2 separate regions of the Homo sapiens genome follow, and region 2 is linked to region 1. Evidence: promoter capture Hi-C in human tissues and cell types (Jung and others, 2019). All regions are on one chromosome and are shown on one strand. The core of a region is centred on a gene start or on the middle of the fragment in contact, and the rest is flanking DNA. Distances in the headings are between cores, read along the strand shown. Region 1 holds the start of CXXC4 (CXXC finger protein 4). Region 2 overlaps CXXC4-AS1 (CXXC4 antisense RNA 1).

Region 1 (7,741 bases), core at 1,339-3,838:
GTATTAATAGCCAGGATACCCAGGGAAAGAAGGAAGACGGGGGTGACAAACGCCTAAGGAAAAGGGCAATTGGAGTGCTAAAGACATGCAAATCATGGGTGGGAGGGCGATACTACCTATAAGCAGAGGGCATTTAAACATTATGAAATGTGTGAACAAGTGCTGCCTGGGCATGCAAATGCTGTAAAGTAGAAAACAGCAATGGCCCTATGAGGAAAATGAACAGGAAATTAGCAAATGAAGTACTGAAAAAGTCTACAATACATCCGAGTATAAACTGTAAGCAAACACAATACAACTGAGAGCTAAGAGACTGCCCACATACAATCTGAACTAAAGAGGCAGGGAAAAAAGAACTACCAGCTGCCACAGTATCCTTCTGTGTCTGCGGTCATTAGTTTGAATCCCAGCACAGCTGGCTCTGTTAGGGTCTTAATTCAATGGACCAAGGACAGGTCTCAATTGTACAAGCCATTTGGTGGTGGGTCTTGGTGGGGGTAAGAGGGTGGTGTTCTACTTGATTTTTTTTAAGGTAGAAAATAAAGATAAGCCAGATAATTACATATATACATATTTATTTATATCAGCAATGTCTCAGGTTTTAAACCAAGTGCCTGCAGCCTCTATAAGAATATTCCTAATCATTCCTAATGGAGATTGCTGTCTCTTCCGAAGACAAGAGGAAAGCATGGGACTTTTTGAAAAGGATATCTCACAATCACTGATTTTTACATTGAGTAAAAGGGGGGGGGGCTTTAACGTGTTCTTTGCCAGAGAAAAATAACAAAATTATTTTTTAATTTTGCTCTTTTTAAGAGGAAAGTTTAATGTTAACTGGGTATTTGCATTAATCTCCTTGCTTACAGGCCATTATTATGCTTTAGGAAGAGGTATTTTAGTTGTTTATTACAGAGGGAGAAGTACATCACAGCCTTTTAAGAAGCAAAGCAAAGGCATAAAGTGTATATTCACTTAAAAAACCAGTTTCTTTGTTTCCAGATTTTTTGGCCAGAATATCTTTTTGTGACATCTTTTGAAGCCCATAGATTGGTCTAGAATGCAGAGTTCAGGGAATTCTACATGGGGGCCCAATAGTCTCCGTCTCAAATATTCAGAGTTCAAAATGGTTATCAATTATAGTAATTATGCTTATAATTAGGTTAATGAACCAGTTATGCCCAAACTCCAAGTGCAAAAACTTCAAGACCTACTGATGAGGTGCTCTAAAAAGAGGGGTTTATGTAAACAAATCCCTATTAGGCAAAGTAAATCAAGATAAGGAACCTCACCCCAGGCTGGATTAGAAGCTTGCAGGCATCTTTCAATCACAGCAAGTCCCTAATCACTCAGGAACCACCTCTGTGGTTTCGCATTAGGGAAAACTGCTGCCTTCTCAGGTCTGAGGGCAATACAAAAGGTGCCCCCAAAATGCTCTTGGCTAAATATTCTTGATGCTTGGAAGGGGTGAGGGAAGACACAGCAAGAATATGCATATAGCTTCAGTTTCTGCGAATCACATTGTAACTGCAAGACCATAATAACTGCTACTCAGTAAAAACTAGTTATGTCAACCATGCATTAGATATCATCACATTGAGTGGAGGGAAAATTTTCAACCTTTTAGTCTTTTGACCTTGTTCCAAATAAATAAATAATTTAACGTCCCTTTTTTAGAGTCTTAGAGTGGTGTTTCCAAACACAAGCTTTCCTTGCTTTTCTGATTGCCATCACCATCCCTCTTCCTACCTCAAGGTTTAATACCACCAGAAACTGTAGAAAATGATTATGCCCAGTATCCAGGTCATTATTGTTTAATCAATGCATCTCTGGAGCATGAAAAAGGTATCTAAGCCACAGCTATTGTTTGGATTTTATTTAAAAACAAAATAAAACACACACAAATAACTATAGTTCTATGCCAAAGCTAAATTAGAGATCCATACTTCATGATCCTGTTTTGCCTTTAAACAATGTGACTTTACATGCCTAATACTGTATGTCTGGTCTACCAGAGACATAGAGATCAAAGGTCATATTTAACATTCAGGAGGAGGGGCGGGTGCAGACTAATTAATAAATTAATACAGCGACGCTTTTTCTTGCTGGAGTCCAGCATTAATAATCTACTTTCACAATCCCAACGGACAGCAAACATTTAAGAGAAAAAAAAGCCAGAGAAAGAGAAAGAACAATCACTTACCAGTCTCTTTTTATTTGGGGAGCCTTAGAATTTGCAGACGCTGCCAGTCTGCCTTTAATTAGTTGCACATCACCCCCTAACACAAAGAAACACAAATCCAGATGTGTCTTGGCAGCTCCCAATTACAACTTTAATACTTGTAAACAAACTGTTGGGGGGGGGGGGGTAAATAAATATGCGGATCAAAAAAAATACCTGTAAATGGCTTTTTTTTCTTGTTGCAGAGAGAAGGAGGAGGAGATGGTGTTAGTGGTGGGGGTGGAAGGAGGAGGAGGTGGGGGGAGAGGAAAGAGTCGAGTGTGAGTGTATGTGTGAGAGCGCGGGTCTGTTGTCGGTGGTCTCTCCTCTCCCAGCGCGTTGCTCTCCGTCCGTCTCCAGTCGCTGTGTGCGAGGGAGGGAGGGAGCCGGGGAGTCTCTCCTCTCTCTCTCCCCTCTCTCTCTCTCTCTCTCTTCCCCTCTCTCTCACCCTCCCCCCTTCTCTCTCTGTTTGTGTGTGTGCGAGTGTGCGGTTGCTGGGGGAGGGGAGCCACAGAGAAAGGCGAGGGAGGAGGTGTGGAGGCTGGGGGCGGGGGCGCGGGGGTGGGGGTGATTGGCGCCGAGGTGAGGAGGACGCAGGGACGTGGACACCTACTGATGATTGGCTGCAAATTACACGGGGAACAAGAGGCGCACGCGGGCCAGCGCTCCTTTTCACAAATCCTCTCCTCGGCAGAGGAGCCACGTTTTCCCTGCTCGCCTGCGGATCGCCCTCCCTCCTCGCGCCCGGCTCTCCGGCTCAGCCCAGCACACAGGGCTGTTGATTATTTTCTTTTGCTCTCGGAGATAATTGTTTGGAAGGGTTGGAAAGAGGGCGTTTCCGCCACTCTGCGTGTGGGGTGTGTGTGTGCGTGCGTGTGCGGGTGTGTGTGTAAATAAACTTGTCTGGGATTTCTGGCTGGGTTGAGAAGAGCAATACAAGAAACAGAGAAAAGGTCATGTTTGTTTGAAGAATGCTCTTAGTTCGTACCCAATGGCATGGTTTTAAATAAATTTCCTGGTGTACCCAGGAAGACTTTAAAAAAAAATACCATTTAGATCTTTAAAGTAAGGGAAAACGGACCGGTGTGGTTCTTCAGACCCTCGAAGTACTATTATGCCAGAATGTAAAAAATCGGTGATATGATGCTTGGCCAATTTCAAAATCCATCTCAATCTCTGTCTCTCTTCTCTACTCTTCTCTCTCTCCTCCCAAAATCCTCTTTTACTATTCCATCTGGTAGTTCCAAAGAATAAATCAGATTTTTAACTCACTGCCCTATTTTTTAATTTCAAACTTTACTTAAACAAAAACTTTTGTCTTTCAGTCTATTTTAGAATAGTATGTAATTAACATTTCACTTCTTGCCACTTGGGAAAACATAGTTTATGAATTGAAACATAAATATTGTACGGCACGTCAAATATAAATAAAACTCGTTCATAAATGCAGCTGTAAATTAACCTCTTCACTGCTGCCTCAAATAAAATATTTGTGGACACATGCTATCCTACTATTAAAGTATACTCTAGTGGAAATAGTTATAAGATACAGAATTATGAATACTTTTGAATAATTTTTTTTCTAAGAGCAAAACAGTGGCTAAGGTAAGTTATAGAGTAGGAAAGAAAAAACTTAAGATTATTTAAATTGGTGTTATCAAGCAGAGTACAAGTTTTGTATTAAAATTAAGTGTTTATTCTAGAGTAATGCAATATTAATTGTTCAGATAAGTGAGGAAAATATAATGTTTTGTTTCTTTAATAAGAAAAAAAAGCTGAAAAGACATTTTAAACCATTTTGTATTTGAATTTTCAAAAGATAGACTTTGACCATATCAAGACATTACCAACTATGGAGGATAAATTGTTGATAACAAGTTTGAAACTGTGGTGTGTGTATGCCTAAATGAAGGTGTTATTTCAAGAGTGGGCTACTATTGCAATAGGAAACAGGTGTATTTTGTGACTCATTGATTAATATACATGTTTTGTAATTTTTTTAAAGCATAAGCTGTTTGATTATTACCGGTTATTTGACATCTATAGACAAAATAACTGGAGGGTTAATAATTATTCAAGTTAATAAGATATTTTTATTCTTGTGCTAATGCATTATAAAAGCAAAAAAGGAAATTTTCCATTTGATTATTTTGTTTTAGCTCAGCTTCATAGGAAATTTATCAGGAAAATGTGGTCACTTTTTAATGAGTGAAAACATGCTAGAAAAATGATAGATTCTTAAACATCTTTTCACAATATTTAAAATATCAGTCCAATGTTAGAAATTTTGAAGTTTATAAATAAGCAATGTTTTTAATCAAATAAAGACATCATGCTTTCTTTTGCCAAATTTTCTTTTCTGGAAATTTTCCTTTTTGGAAATTCCTTTTCTCATGCTTTCCTTTTTGGGACTCTTCAAGCTTACTTTCAAAATGAAATCTTAAACACGTGAGAGAAAATATGTTCTAAATTCCAATGAATTTTACTTTCCAGCTAATGAAGGAAAACTACAGAATTCTTGGTCTTAATAATTAATAATAATAGCCCCTATTAATGACCCATTAGTGTCAGATCCTGCACTAAGTAATTTGCAGATATTCTATTTTGTCCTTGCAATAATCCTGTGAAGTGGCTATTATTTCCATTTTACAAACAAGGAAATTGAGGCCCAGAGAAATGAGGTAACCTAGATTAGGTCACAAAGTTAGTATGTAAAAAGTTTGAAATTTGTACCCAATCTGGTCTATTCCAAAGCCTTATGTTTATAACCTCTACCCTAGTCTCACTGTCAATAATTAATCAATCAATAAACCTTCTCTGGATACTGGAACCTCAGATTTAATTATGATTGTAGGCCCCTAGTTGATATGGGATCAATTAAATTTATAAAAGAAATTATAAACAATATACCTCATGGCTCTGATATAGCATTCTGTTTCCTTTCCACTAGGGAATTGATTGCATACTTAGCCAAATATGATCAAGGGAAATCTTTTTTCTCATCTATCTCATATCCATTAATTTTTTATACTAGTGTAGATACATATATGCACCATGTCTCACATTAGTCTATGTTTGTCTTCTTTAAAATGATATATCAGGGTTTTGATAATAATACCTGAGAACACTCAGTTCTCTGTTAACTCTCTTTAAGTCCACAGTTTTATATGATATACGAAAAAGTGAGATTGTTTTCTCTGCAAAATGCCCATTACAGCTTCCAATTACCTGGAAGTGGTTTGTGCCTTTACCCTGCTTTATGATTTTTTAAAATCTTAGCTAGGAGAGAGTTCAAAGGTTTCATAGCTATCCTGATGGGACTTTTTTTTTAATCCCAACTTGAGCATCACCCAAAAAAAGTATCCCCACTCAGCATAAATTTTATGTACTGCTCTCAAATATCTTTAAAGTACTGCTACTTTCCAACATAATCATGATCATCATTGTTATCCAGAATCTCCAAAAAGGTAGCATATTCTGTTGAAATAAATAGACCTCAAAATTTACCAATGCAAAATCCACAGAAGTATGTGTTTTCTCATGTAACAGTCCAGGGTGGGAATTTCAGATCAGAGACCATTCTTCTCTATGAGTGATCCATAGATTAAGATTCCTTTTATCTTGGGACATTTTATCTCCAAAGGACTGCTCAACTACATCAAGCTGGCAGAAGGGCATGAAGGAGCTATGATGGCTTGTTAAAAGTCTTGGTCTTAAAGTGGAACATAGCACTGTAGCTCACATGCAATTGTCAAAAACTTGTTACATGCCACACCTAGCTGCAAAGATTACTGGGAAGCCAACTCCAAGATGCAGCTTTATTACTATGGGGTAGAGAAACAATTCTGAGGGACAGCTAGCTATCTTCCACGCAGAGTAACACAGAAGGAGAATAATCTGATGAAGTGATTAAGTAGACCACACAGCCCTGAATCTAACCTTGAAATTCCTCTGCTCCCTGGAAGTTATTTTGCTGATTACCACTGAAAACAGTCTTAATGACTTTAGGGAAAGTTTGGCAACTGTGAAAGAACTAAGCTTTCTTAAATACTTGTAGGATAGCCAAGACAAGGTTAGAAGATTTGAACAAGAATTTACTGAAGAATAAAGAAAGCAGAAGTAATACAATCAGAGAAAATAGCATAAATAAAAAATAAACTAACCGAGATAAATCTTGGGGACCTGCAGCTTGTCTGCTGGTGTTTTCAAACCAAGAGGTAATTTTTAACCTCGCACAAATGAGATGTTTCCTATTAGTCATAAGAAAATATACAACATGGAGGTCAGAAAAGGTGTGTGGAGCTTTCTTACCTAATATCCAAGGACTCACATCTCAACTTACATTCATGGGCTCTGAGGACCACCTCTTTTGCCATAGTAATTCACTGTGGATATAGTAAATAACCACATCCTTTATAGAAGGAATATTCCCTTAAAACAAATAGGGAATAATTTCTTTAACTCTTTTGACTGGCCAAAAATCTACCTAGGATTTTTATTTACCTGGCTCCTTTCCCAGAATTTGAGTTGGTTGACATTGGGAATTGTGTCTTATACAGCTTTGTGTCCCACCTCATACCTACTATGCCTACTACATGGCAGGTTCCAAACATTCTGAGTCATGCATATTGAAATAATGTAGTATACACAAAATGTATGGAAGTAAATTCCCCATTGCCTATAGGATAAAAGTGCAAAATTTATAAAATTAATTTTATGAAGCCCTTCTCCAACTGGTTCCATCTTTTGAATCTACTCTACTAGTATTCCTTCCAAGAACCCACTATTCTAGCAGATCCACTTAGCTCAGAAAACTTCATTTGCCTTATGACCAGAGAGGGAGAAAATCTTTAATAATGAACTGTGAGCCAAAATGAAGTACTATTATTTCCATAAAAGAAATCTTTGCATATAAAAAATTATTATAGCATAATGAAATAATATTTTTAAATCCCTTAATTTAACGTTTTCAGAAGTTGTCTTGGTGACTTAACAATTGGGATTTGATGAAGCTACTTCTTAAAATCAATATTCTGCACACCTGTTGTTTTCTTTCACTTCTAATTAAATATTGATACGTTGTTATCACAATGCTGACCTTCATATTCAAAGCTGGTACTTTTAACCTACCAACACAGTAGGTCACATGCTTTGAGCTGTTTTTCCAGCTATCTTTACTCTCTTACCTTGTCTTTCTAATGACTAACAGGAGGCACTTATGGAATGGCTGGCCACTGTTAAGGACAAAAACTGTGACAATTGAGGATAATGAAAATAATGGGTTCACAGGGTTAAACCCATTACGTTGGCCTCATTAACACCATATTCAAATCAACTAAGCTAATCAAGCTTATCACATTCACATATTTTCATATACAGTTTGGACACTAGACAAATATGTACCAAGTATTATTTTGGGCATTAATTTTTAGAATTGTTCTTTGCAAGACCAAATTTGGTCTAGCCCCATTTTAATTTACTCATGATATTTTTTCTCATCATATAAATTCTCATTTCTATAAA
Region 2 (7,741 bases), core at 3,557-6,056, 120 kb after region 1:
TATTATATTTTTTCCTATAGAGTTGTTTGAGCTCCTTATATATTATGGTTATTAGTCCCTTATCATATGGGTAGTTTGCAAATATTTTCTCCCATTATGTGGATTCACTCTTCACTTTGTTGATTCCTTTGCTGTGCAAAAACTTTTTAACTCGATATGATCCCATTTGTCCACTTTTCTTTAGTTGTCTGTGCTTGTCGGGTATTACTCAAGAAATCTTTGCCTAGTTCAATATCCTGGAGAGTTTCACCAATGTATTTTTGTAATAGTTTCATAGTTTAAGGTCTTAAATTTAAGTCTTTCATTCATTTTAGTTTGATTTTTGTGTATGGCAAGAGATAGGGTTCTAGTTTCATTCTTCTGCATATGAATATCCAGTTTTCCCAGCACCATTTATTGAAGATACTGTCCTTTCTCCAATGTATGGTTTGGCACCTTTGTCAAAATGAGTTCATTGTAGACATTTGGATTTTTTTTTTCTGGAATCTCTATTCTATTCTGTTGACCTGTGTGTCTGTTTTTAGGTCAGTACTATGCCGTTTTGGTTACTATAGCTCTATAGTATAATTTGAAGTCAGGTAATGTGATTATTTCAACTTTGTTCTTTTTGCTTAGCATAGCTTTAGCTATTCTGGGTGCTTTGTGGTTCCTTATACATTTTGAGATTGATTTTTTTTTCTATTTCTGTGAACAATAGCATCTGTATTTTTATAGGGATTGTACTGAATTTGTAGATTGCTTTGGATAGTATGGACATTTTAACAATATTGATTCTTCCAATCCATGAACATGGAATATCTTTTTCATTTTTTGGTGTCCCCTTCAATTTCATACTTCAATGTTTTATAGTTTTCATTGCTGGAATCTTTAACTTTTTTAGTTAAGTTTATTCCTAGGTATATTATTTTATTTGTAGCTATTGTAAATGGGATTAGTCTCTTAAATTCTTTTTCAGATTGTTCAGTGTTGACATATAGAAGTGTTAGTGATTTTTATATGTTGATTTTTGTATCCAGCAACTTTACTAAATTTGTTTATCATTTTTAATAGTTTTATTGTGGAGTCTAGGTTTTTCCAAATATGAAATCATATCATCTGTAAACAAGGATAATTTGACAGCTTTCTTTCTAGTTTGGATGATTTTATTTTATTTTCTTGTCTGATTACTGTAGCTAGGACTTCAAGTACTATGTTGAATAACAGTGGTAAGAGCAGCATCCTTGTCATGTTCCTGATCTTAGAGGAAAGTCTTTCTGCTGCTCCCCGCACCCTGCCCCCAATTCAGTATGATTCTACCTGTGGGCCTGTAATATATGGCTTTTATTTATTTTATTTTATTTTATTTTTTTGAGATGGAGTCTTGCTCTGTCACCCAGGCTGGAGTGCAGTGGCACAATCTCGGCTCACTGCAAGCTCCGCCTCCCAGGTTCACGCCATTACCCTGCCTCAGCCTCCTGAGCAGCCAGGAACACAGCTGCGTGCCACCAAACCCAGCTAATTTTTTGTATTTTTTAGTAGAGATGGGGTTTCACCATGTTAGCCAGGATGGTCTCGATCTCCTGACCTCGTGATCCACCCGCCTTGGCCTCCCAAAGTGCTGGGATTACAGGTGTGAGCCACTGTGCCCGGCCCATATGGCTTTTATTATGTTGAAGTAGATTCTTTCTATACCAAGTTTTTTCAGGGGTTCATCATGAAGGGATGTTGAATTTTATCAAATGCTTTTAAGCTTCAAGAAAAATGATTATATAGTTTGTGTCTTTCATTCTGTTGCTATGGTGTATCACATTGATGGGTTTGTTTATGTTGAACCTTCTTGCACTCCTGGGATAAATCCCACTTGGTCATGGTGAATAAAATTTTTAATGTGTTGTTGAACTTGGTTTGCTAGTATTTTGTTGAGGATTTCTATATTAATATTCATTAGGGATATTGGCCTGTAGCTTTCTTTATTTGATGTGTCTTTTTCTGGTTTTGGTATCTGGCTAATATTGGCCTTATAGAAAAAGTTTGGAAGTACTCCCTCCTCCTCTATTCTCTGGAATAGTTTGAGTAGGACTGGTACTAGTTCTTCCTATATGTTTGGTAGAAATTGGCAATGAAGCCATCGGGTCCTGGGCTTTTCCTTGCTGGGAGACTTTTTATTATGACTTTGATCTGGTTACTTGTTATTAGTGTGTCTGGGTTATGAATTTCTTCACAATTCAATCTTGGTAGGTTGCTTGTGTCTAGGAATTTATCCATTTTCTCTAGATTTTCAAATTTATTGGCATATAGTTGTTCATAGTAGCCAGTAATGATCCTTTGAATTTCTGTGGTATCAGTTTTAATGTCTCCTTTTTTACCTCTGATTTTATTTATTTGGGTCCTCTCTCTTTTTTCATTAGTCTGGCTAAAGGTTTGTCACTTTGTTTATGTTTTCCAAAAAACCAACTTTTTGTTTCATTGATCTTTTGCATTGTTTTCTTCATTTCAATTTCATTTATTTCTGCTCTGATCTTTTTTTTTCTTCTACTAATTTTGGATTTGGTTTGCTCCTATTTTTCTAGTTTTTTAAGATGTATTATTAGGTTATTTATTTGAAGCTTTTCTTCATTTTTGATGTAGGCACTTATAGCTATAAAGTTCCCTGTTAGTACTGTTTTGCTGTGACTCATAAGTTTTGGCATATTGTTTCTTCATTATCATTTGTTTCAGTAAATATTTCAATTTCCTTCTTAATTTCTTCATTGACCACTGGTCATTCAGGAGCATATTGCTTAATTTTCATGTGTTTGTATGGTTTCCAAAATTCCTCTTGTTCTTGATTTCTAGTTTTATTCTATTGTAGTCAGAGAAGATGCTTGATATTATTTCAGGGTTTTTAAAAAAATGTTTTAAGCTTGTTTTGTGACCTAAAATATGGTCTGTCCTTGAGAATAATACATGTGCTGAGAAAAAGAATTTGTATTCTGCAGCTGTTAGATGAAATCTTTGGTAAATATCTATTAGGTCAATTAGGTCTATCTACAGTGCAGATAAAGTACAATTTTTTAATTGATTTTCTGTCTAGAAGACCTCTCCAGTGCTGAAAATGGGGTGTTGAAATCTCCAGTTATCATTGTAATGTTATCTATTTCTCTCTTTGGCACTAATAATATTTGATTTATGTATCTGGGTGCTCCAGGGTTGGGTGCATATATATTTACAAGTGTTTCATCTCCTTGCTCAATTCACCCTTTATCGTTATATAATGACCTTTTTGTCTCTTCTTATAGTTTTTGTCTTGAAATCTATTTTTTCTCTTCTTTTTTGGTTTCCATTGGCATGGAATATCCTTTTCCATCCCTTTATTTTAAGTCCATGTGTGTCTTCATTGGTGAAGCATGTATCTTGTAGCCAACAGATCACTGAGTCTTGCTTTTTATTCAATCAGCCGCTCTATGTCTTTTTACTGAGAATTTTAGTTCATTTACATTCAATGTTATTATTGATTAATATGAACTTACTTCTGCCATTTTGCTATTTGTTTTCTGGCTTTGTGGCCTTCTCTTCCTTCTTCCCATCCTTCTCTTTGTCCTTTTTGTGAAGATGATTTTCTCTGGTGGTATGATTTAATTTCTTGGTTTTTCTTTTTTGTTTATTGGTCGTATGTTTTTGATTTGAGATTACAATGAGGCTTGCAAATATAACTCATTATTTTAAGCTCATAACAAATTTAAACTGCTTGCATAAACAAACTAACAAGCAAAAAGAAAACTAATAAAAATTCTACACTTCAACTTTGCCCCCTACTTTTTAACTTTTTGTTTGTATTTATCTTATCGTATTGTCTATGTCTTGAAAAGTTGGCATAGTTCTTATTTTTGAGTGGTTCATCTTTTAGTCTTTCTACTTAAGATATGAGTAGTTTATCTACCGCAGAGTATTATAATAGTCTGTGTTTTTCTGTGTACTTGCTATTTATTACCAGTGAGTTTTGTACCTTCAAATGATTTCTTTTTTTCTGATTGAAGTACTCCCTTTAGCATTTCTTGCAGGACACATCTAGTGTGAGTGAAATTCCTCAGCTTTTGTTTGTCTGGGAAATTCTTCATTTCTCCTTAATGTTTGAAGGATATTTTCACCAGATATATTATTCTAGGATAAAAGATTTTTTCTTTCAGCACTTTAAGTATGTCACACCCCTCTTTCCTGGCCTGTAAGGTTTCCATTGAATAGTCTGCTACCAGACACATTGGAGCTCCATTGTGTTATTTGTTTCTTTTTTCTTGCTGCTTTTATAATCCTTTAATGGTTTATCTTTGGGAGTTTGATTATTAAATGCCTTGTGGTGATCTTCTTTATGTTAAATCTGTTTGGTGTTCTGTAACATTCTTATATTTGAATTTTGAAATTTTCTCTAGGTTTGGGAAGTTCCGTGATATTATCTTTTCGAATAAACTTTATACCCCTATCCATTTCTCTACTTTCTTCTTTAAGGCCAATAACTCTTAGATTTGCCCTTTTGAGGCTATATTCCAGATCTTGTAAGTGTGCTTCATTGTTTTTTATTATTTTTCATTTTATCTCCTCTGAGTGTGTATTTTCAAATAGCCTGTCTTCAAACTCAGAAATTCTTTCTTCTGCTTGATCAGTTCTGCCACTAAGAGACTCCAATGCATTCTTTAGTATGTCACTTGCATATTTCAGCTCCAGAATTTTTGCTTGATTCTTTTTAATTATTTCAATCATCTCTTTATTAAATTTCTTTGATAGAATTCTGATTTCCTTGTCTGTATTATGTTGAATTTCTTTAAGTTTCCTCAAAACAGCTATTTTGGATTGTCTGTCTGAAAGATCACATATTTCTCTTTCTCCAGAATTGGTCCCTTGTGCCTTATTTAATTTGTTTGGTAGGTGACAGTTTCCTGAATGGTGTTGATGCTTATGATTGTTCATCAATGTCTGGGAATTGAAGAGTTAGGTATTTATTTTAGTCTGTGCCGTCTGGGCATGTTTCTACCTGTCCTCCTTGGGAAGGCCTTCCAGGTATTTTAAAGGACTTGGGTGTTGTGATGTAAGCTGTTTCTGCATTAGGGACACCCCAAGCCCAGTAACACTGTGATTCTTGCATACTTGTAGAAGTACTACATTGGCAGCCTTGGATAAAATCTGGAGGAATCTTGTGGATTACCAGAGAGAGAGACTCATTCTCACTTTTTCTCCCAAACCAATGAAGTCTCTCTCTGTGTGCTGAGCCATGCAGAGCTGGGGGAGGGGTGACATGAGCATCCTGTGGCCACCGCCACTGGGGCTGTGCTGGATCAGAACTGAAGCCAGCACAGCACTGGGTCTCACCAAAAGCCCACTGTAACCACTACCTGGCTATTGTTTATGGTCACGTAAGGCCCTAGGGCTTCACAATCAGCAGGTGGCAAAGCCAGCCAAGTTTTTGTCCTGCCCTTCAGGGTGGCAAGTTCCTCCAGACCCTGGGCAGGTCCAGAGATACTGTCCAGGAGCCATGGAGTGGAATCAAAATACTTAGAAATCTACCTGATATTCTATTCTACTGCAGCTGAGCTGGTGCTCAAGCCACATGACACAGATCTGGCCACTCTTCTCTTCCTTTTCCAGAGGCAGAGGAGCTTCTCCCCATGGCTACCATCACTACTGGCCCATAGGGAGTACTGCCACTCTTGTGGCAAACTTCTCTTTATTTTTCCCTCCTCTCTCCTTAAGCAGAGTAAAGTCAGTTTTGTTGCTGTGAACTGTGCTGCCTGAGGTTGGGGGAGGGGTGGTGCAAGCACTCCCTCAATCTCTATGGCTGGTGTCTCACTGTCACATTCCCCCCAAGTACATTGGCTCTGAGCCCAGCACAGCCTTTGGACTTGCCTAGGAATTGTAGTCGTGTGGCCTACACTGCATTTCAAGTTTGTGTGTACTCCAGCACACGTTAGCCCATGGTGGTGAGGCTTGCTGAAACTGAGGTTCCGACTGCTAGGATTTGCTAGGATTGGCAATTCCTCTCTGGCGAGGGCTGGTTTAAATGCTCCGTCTGTGGGCAGGGATTGGCTGAGTTCGGCCAGTTTTGCTTTCTACTCTGACAGGGCAGCACTGAGTTGAATGCAAGGTCTCACAATCACTGCACTCTCTCTCCCCATAAGCACACAGATCCTCTCTCTGTGCCATGCAGTTGCTGCCAGGGGATGGGTGTTAGGAGGTGTTAGATGTTTAAGACTATTTTTTCTACCATCTTCAGTGCAGCAACATGAAGTTAAAGCCAGATACTGTGAGTGCTCACCTGATTTTTGGTTCTAATGAAAGTGCTTTTCCTGTGTAGATAGTTGTTAAATTTGTTGTTCCTGTGCTGGGTGGTGTGGGGGGTGATAGGTGGAAGCTTCTATTTGGCCATCCTGCTTTGTCTCACTCCCACAAATGGCATTTAGTATGGTGACTCTTTTCCATAAGGTTTTCAATTTACTTTGCCCACATTCATCACAAGAATCATTATGGCAACTATAGCCTTATAAAATGTATTTCTTAAATAACAGAACATGAAAGTCTAAATTATTCCTTGATCCATGGGCTACAAAATGGATATTGTCAATCACTAGTAAATATTGTGAATCTTTCTTTTTTTTTTTTTTTCTGAGCAGTAGGCCTCAATCGTGAGCTTAAATATTTAGCAAACTCTGCTGTAATCAGATGTGCCATCATTCAGGCTTTGTTGTTCTATTTATAGAGCACAAGAAGAGTAGAATTAGCATAATGTTTAAGGGCCCTAAAATTTTCAGAATGATAAACAAACACTGGCTTCAACTTGAAGTCACCAGCTGCATGAACTCCTAACTAGAGAGTCAGCCTGTCCTTAAAGCTCTGAAGCCAGGCACTGACTTTCCTCTCTAGCTATGAACGTCCTAGATTGGTCTTTTCCTCCAATAAAACACTGTTTTGTCTACATAAAAAAAAAAATCTATTGTTTAGCATATCCACCTTCATCAATTATCTTAGCTAGATCTTCTGGATAATTTGCTGCAGCTTCTACGTCAGCACTTGCTGCTCCACTTTGTACTTTCACGTTATGAGGATGGCTTCTTTCCTTAACCTTCATGAACCAACATTTTTTAGCCTCAAACTTTTCTTCTTCAGCTTCCTCACCTCTCTCTGCCTTCACAGAATTGAAGAGAGTTAGGGCCTTGCTCTGGATTAGGCTTTTGTTTAAGGGAATGTTTTGGATGGTTTGATTGTCCATCCAGATCACTCACACTTTCTTCATATCAGCAATAAGGTCGTTTCACTTTCTTACCATTTGTGTGTTTCCTGGAGTAGCACTTTTAATTTCTTTCAAGAACTTTTACTTTGAATTCACAATTTGGCTGTTTGGTACAAGAGGCCTAGCTTTCAGCCTATCTTGACTTTTCACAAGCCTTCTTCACTAAGCTTAATCATTTATAACTTTTAATTTAAGAAGGAATAGATGTGTGACTCTTCCTTTCACTCGACCACTTAGAAACCACTGTAGGTTTATTAATAGGCCTAACTTCAATATTGTTGTTTCTTAGTAAATGGGAAGGCCCAAGTAGGGGAGAGATGTGGAGGAAAGGCTACTTGGTGAAGAGGCAGAACACAGAAAACATCTGTCAACTAAATTTGCCATCTTATGTGAACACAGTCCATGCTGCTCCAAAATAATTATAATAGTCACATCAAATATCAGTGATCACAGATCACCATATCAGATATAACAATAATGAAAAGTTTGAAATGTTACAACAATTAC

Evidence for each region. The method cuts DNA at HindIII sites, captures the fragments that hold promoters and counts their contacts. A contact is called where the count stands out against the background at its distance.
Region 2: a contact is called between a fragment that was not itself captured here and the fragment with the promoter of CXXC4 in region 1, in 2 of the 25 tissues and cell types used here (heart left ventricle and heart right ventricle).

What each region holds. Positions count from the first base shown.
Region 1 is chr4:104,492,306-104,500,046 of GRCh38, forward strand. It overlaps CXXC4 (CXXC finger protein 4), which reads right to left and starts at 2,589. Exons shown (of 3, transcript NM_025212.4): 1 at 2,396-2,589. All of the region lies in intron 1 of CXXC4-AS1 (CXXC4 antisense RNA 1), which reads left to right. RefSeq lists an enhancer at 27-76. The HindIII fragment of the contact is 3,942 bases long and covers 1,506-5,447 here.
Region 2 is chr4:104,610,686-104,618,426 of GRCh38, forward strand. All of the region lies in intron 1 of CXXC4-AS1 (CXXC4 antisense RNA 1), which reads left to right. The region is part of intron 1 of LOC124900745 (a long non-coding RNA gene); the gene reads right to left. Among named protein-coding and RNA genes, the nearest start is that of CXXC4, 120 kb to the left of the region's middle. The HindIII fragment of the contact is 4,146 bases long and covers 2,734-6,879 here.